2 separate regions of the Homo sapiens genome follow, and region 2 is linked to region 1. The links are contacts of gene promoters, found by promoter capture Hi-C in human tissues and cell types (Jung and others, 2019). All regions are on one chromosome and are shown on one strand. Each heading gives the region's core, a stretch centred on a gene start or on the middle of the fragment in contact. The rest is flanking DNA. Distances are from core to core; before and after follow the strand shown.

Region 1 (2,700 bases), core at 160-2,659:
AAAGTGAAACATAAATCTAGCCTACGTGCACATCCAGGCACAGTACTTTTCCTTAAACTTATTCATGATACAGATTCCTTTGCTCACGTTTCCCTTCTGACCTTCTCCCCACCATCACCCTGTTGCCCTGCCACACTCCCCTCACCAAGGTAGTAAAAACAGTGATCCATAAATACTGAGGGAACTCAGAGACCAGCGCCGATGCAGGTCCTTGCATGCTGAGTGTGCCGGTCCCCTGGGCTGACTGTTCTTTCTCTATACTTTGTCTCTGCGTCTTGTTTCTTTTCTCAGTCTCTCATCTCCACCTGAAGAGAAATACCCACAGGTGTGGATGGGGCAGGCCCCCTTCAAATTTCCTTCAGTCAGCAAGCAGAGAAGCCTTTCTTCCCATTCAGACCCTAATCAAGGCTTCTGAAGGTAGGGGTTTTGTCTTTCTCTCCTTAAAAGATGTCTTGAGGTAGGCATTTGAAGCCTGGAAAATCATTCCCAGGGAGTCAGGCTACTCTTATCTACTCTTCTAGGTATTTCTTGGCCAAATGTTTCTAATCCCAGAGCCCACCCCCTAAACCTTTTTTTTTTGAGATGGAGTCTCACTCTGTTGCCCAGGCTGGAGTGCTCTGGTGCGATCTCTGCTCACTGCAAGCTCCGCCTCCTGGGTTCACGCCATTCTCCTGCCTCAGCCTCCCAAGTAGCTGGGACTACAGGCGCCCGCCACCACGCCCGGCTCATTTTTTGTACTTTTAGTAGAGACGGGATTTCACTGTGTTAGCCAGGATGGTCTCGATCTCCTGACCTCGTGATCCGCCCACCTCGGCCTCCCAAAGTGCTGGGATTACAGGCATGAGCCACCGCACCCAGCCTAACCTTTTCTAATACAATTACTGTCTTCAAGCCAGCACATGGAGACATTTGAGCTGGACTCCTGTGTCCTTGGGAGCTGACTTTTCTTTTTTTCTTTTCTTTCTTTTTTTTTTTCTTTTTTTCTTTTTTCTTTTGGAGATAGGGTCTCACTCTGTAGTCCAGGCTGGAGTGCAGTGACGTGAACACAGCTCACTGCAACCTCGACCTCCCCAGGCTCAGGTGATCCTCTCATCTCAGCCTCCTGAGGAGCTGGGACTACAGGTGCACGCCACCATGCCTGGCTAATTAAAATGTTTAACTCCTGGGCTCAAGCATGCCTCCCACCTGGGCATCCCAAAGTGCTGGGATTACAGGTGTGAGCCACCACACCCAGCCCAGAAGGCAACCTTCAATATTGAGCTTTGCTCTTCTCAAAAACCTGGTGTCACAGCACTGGCCTCCAGCGCATCCAGCCGCGGGCCCCTTTTGCTCAATAACGGTTTCTATGGAGACATCTGTGATGCCACCACTGCTCCCAGGAGCCCACAGGACCTGGAGCTCTGGAAGCTGATCTCCTCCCACTGCACCAGCCAGCAGGTTCATGTTCGAGGCCATCTTCCCCTCCACACCCCAAGCCAGGCTGAAGAGAGATCCACGGGAAAAGCCGGGCCTGTCCTCATTCAGGTCCACATTCAGGCAACAAAGCTCACTTGGTCTTTGCATCCCACGCCTCATGTTACCTAAGGAGGCCAGCCCATCTCAGAGGCACAGTTCGATGTCCAGCTCGATGGCCAGGGCCCTGGTGCTCCTCCAGAGCATGGCCAGCCGGGACGCCCGGTGCCCAGAATGGAAACCGCACCAAAAGCCACGCACGCTCAGCAAGTCGGTCCAGACCATCAGCCGCTACTACAGGAAGACGGTATGGGGTCCCGGGAGGAGGGCTGCCACGAGCCTTGAGGTGACCTGTTTCTTCTCCTCCCCAAAGGCCCATAGAGCTGTCAGCCCACAAAGCATTCCACAGGCCTTCTGGTGATGGGTTACCAAAGGGGGATTCCAGGCAGGCAACGAATTGAGCGCTAGGGGTGGAAAGAGCCCTGCGGTCCTCTCCCTTTCTGAAGGGCCTGGTGCCTTAGTCCCCACATGCCACCGGCTTCTTCTGGGTTAGCTGCTTTGGGTTGGTCCTCCCCTCTTGCAGACCTTGGCTCCCGGTGTCTCTGGTTGGCCAAGGGGAGAAGATGTACAGTTTGCCCCAAGACTCCCAAGGTGCATCTTGAAAAGGAGAGTGAAGGGGAGAAAATGTGAAAGGGGACCTCAGCCAGTCAGGTACGCTGTGCCACCGTGTACTGGGGGAGCCCGAGATGGTCACCCCGGCTCCTGGCAGCTTCCTGGGTGAATGCATTGCCTGGACCTAGTGGACTATGGTTTCTTTTTTTCTTTTTCTTTTTTTTTTTTTTTTTTTTGAGACGGAGTTTCACTCTTGTCACCCGGGCTGGAGTGCAATGGCGCGATCTTGGCTCACCGCAACCTCCACCTCCTGGGTTCAAGTGATTCTCCAGCCTCAGCCTCCAGAGTAGCTGGGATTACAATGTGCCACCTTGCCCGGCTAATTTTATTTGTTTGTTTGTTTGTATTTTTAATAGAGATGGGGTTTCTCCATGTTGGTCAGGCTGGTCTCAAACTCCCAACCTCATGTGATCTGCCCGCCTTGGCCTCCCAAAGTGCTGGGATTACAGGCATGAGCCACCATGCCCGGCTGGACTATGGTTTCCAAAGTGGGTCTGCGTGGCTCTTGCTGAGCATCCAGTGTGCTGGAGAGGGGACAGAGGGGACACACTGCTGCAGCCTGCACACACGCAGGCC
Region 2 (2,700 bases), core at 157-2,656, 110 kb before region 1:
GGCGCAGCGGGATGGGCGGGTTGCCCCGTGGTGTGCGCGGCGCAGCGGGATGGGCGGGTTACCGAGGTGCAGCCAGCAGCCCAGACAGCTATGAGCACTCAGTGGACTTGGGCCCAAACACTGGGATCCAACTCCATCAGAAAAGCACATTATTAAAGGAATTCGTCCATTTTTCTGTATCTTAAAAAGACACTGCGGACACCAAAGACCTGGTATCTAAACACTTGACATATGCCTAATTTTAACTTAAAATGCAGTCTCCTATCCCAGATCCCTCTGATTTATTCTCGGATGTCAACATTCCCCTCCGCGCTGAGCTCAGCACGGAGGCTGTTGTGCGGTACCTACAGCAGGTGAATGGGCGGCTGCCGACCGCCCCGAGCCACGCCCCCAGGCCAGGCTCCTGAAGGAAAGGTGCGAGCCGGCTCATATCACAGCGCATTTTCTATCGTTGAATTAAAGGGAGTGCCGAAATCCTAAAAAATCTAAATTAAGATTTTTAAAATGTTTTTTCTTCAAAACTGGACAAAAGATCAGACAATAATACTTAGTGGCTTATAATGCTCTGACCTAAAATATACACACCACTATATACGCTCCCCGGCTCCCTCCAACCCCGCCAATCTACCAGCCACTCGGGAGCCACCTCAGTCATCAGACCCAGGGCAGCAGACAGTGCCTGTGTTCACGACACCCTTATCTGACTCAGTAGCAGCCCAAAGCACGGGCGGTGGGGCTCGCAATCTGGATACGCCAAAGAGAAGCCACAAAGTGCTTCCTTTAAATGACGAGCTGAAAGTTCTTGACGCAACAAGGAAAGAAAAAATCCTATGCTGAGGTTGTTGCTCAGATCTTCAGTAAGACCAAATCTTCTATCCATGCAATTATAAACAGTATATTGTTATCCTTGTTCTATACTATGATTGTTGCTAATCTCTTACTGTATCTAATTTATAAATTAAATGTATCACAGGTATGCTGTATAGGAAAAAACACAGGAAATACAGGGTTTGGTACAATCTGAATCCCCTGGTGGTCTTAGAATGCATCCCCTGAGGATAAGGGGAGACTAGCATACTCCAAACACACCCCCTCTCGCACTCCCCAGCTGTTTCGAGAGCAGAGGACAGGATCACATGGCCAGTAAGGTGTCTTGGGGCTGACACTTACATGGAATTCCGTGGTGTTGAGAATGTGGCGCCCGTCCGGGCTCCAGCACGAGGCCACCAGCCCGGCTGAGCCCTCGTCTATTTTGCAGTGCCATTCGGGCTGCTCTAAAGACCAGACCTGGATTGAGAGAAGAAAGAAACACACAAGTGCAAACTCATCAGCACCGAGAGACAGCGAGGACAGCTCGCTTAAACGCAGCGGAGACCCGACCGCACAGGGTGTCTTCAAACTCATCAGCAGTCTATAGCGAGGCCTCGCCGAGAGACAACTCCCTTAAAACCAGCAGAGACCCGATCACACAGGGTGTCTTTTAGAACCTTTCATGATGAAGGGCTGGTGCTGGATTCCAGTGTAAAAGTAAGCCACGCTTCTTGGTGATTTCATTTCGTTGTTGTTTTAAAACTGTTTATTCACATTGTCATTCCTAAGACCTCATTTAGTTAAGCTTTGGACACAGAAGAAAACACGACTTCTTAGGACTTCCTGAAACACACCACATCCGCGTGGCTAGATTGCTGTCAACACCTCCGTTTCTCAACTATATTGCTTAGAAATTAAGACTACGTTGGAGTTTCCTTAGTTTAAATGTTCTTAAACTTTAGAGAACGTTATAATTTCAAAAGAAAACTGGCTTTGAGCTGCACGGACTTTTTTTTCAAACTAGAAAGGCACAGAACAAAACCCCTCCTTCCCAGGGGCCCTCAGAAGGTGTCCAGATTCTAAGCGACACGGCAGCACACACCTGCACCAGCCCTCGCTTGTACATGGCGCACAGGATGAAGAGCGAGTCTGCCGACCACTCGATGTGCTGGATCTGGTCTAGGCACGTGTACAGCTGAAGGATCTGAAGGGTGTTCACATCCCGGACCACTAACCGGTACTGGACACAGGAAGCCTAAAAAATATGAGAAAGCAAGCACCTGACATTCTCCACTCCAAAAGAGGGGGGCCTTCGGAATGCTACTGCCCTGGCCTTCAGTGACTGTGGCCTTCTCTCCTGCCAGAGGTTTCATGTCTAGATCACCAGTGACATCCCCAGCCCCTAAAGATCAGTTCAGTTCATACAAGGGTAATGTTGAAATATACAAGCCAGGTTTTAATATTGCTATACTCTATTGTAAAGTATAAAAGTATGTTTTAACTCGCTACTTAAAGCTTTAAGACATTTTTAAGTCCCTTCTTATCTGTATGTTAAAAACTAAACTTAAATGGGAAGTAGCATTGGGAGAAAGCTCTTCTGTGAACTAATAACCAAAATCCTCTGCTAGTTTTATAAACACTTTTGGACAATTTCCTCAAATTTATAAAGGGTAAGAATTGAGGCTTCACAGATGACAACGAAAATGGCAAGGAATGCATCAATCTTCTTATGCAGTGCCGAACTCAGAGCCAAAACAACAGAAGATCAAAAGACAGGCTTTCACTTCTGCACACATAAAGATGCTTCGCAAATGCTCATTTATCTCCATTAACCTATTCCTAACACGAAACGGGAAATGTTTAAGTGTTAGTACTATTTTCTTAAAGATA

What was found. The method cuts DNA at HindIII sites, captures the fragments that hold promoters and counts their contacts. A contact is called where the count stands out against the background at its distance.
Region 2: a fragment that was not itself captured here is called in contact with the fragment with the promoter of CCDC27 in region 1 in 2 of the 25 tissues and cell types used here (H1 embryonic stem cells and mesenchymal stem cells).

The regions. Positions count from the first base shown.
Region 1 is chr1:3,751,041-3,753,740 of GRCh38, forward strand. CCDC27 (coiled-coil domain containing 27) reads left to right here and starts at 1,410. Exons shown (of 12, transcript NM_152492.3): 1 at 1,410-1,759. The coding sequence starts at 1,442. The HindIII fragment of the contact is 11,219 bases long and covers 1-2,700 here.
Region 2 is chr1:3,645,496-3,648,195 of GRCh38, forward strand. It overlaps WRAP73 (WD repeat containing, antisense to TP73), which reads right to left. Exons shown (of 12, transcript NM_017818.4): 2 at 1,913-2,065; 3 at 1,171-1,287. Among named protein-coding and RNA genes, the nearest start is that of WRAP73, 3.3 kb to the right of the region's middle. The HindIII fragment of the contact is 3,229 bases long and covers 1-2,700 here.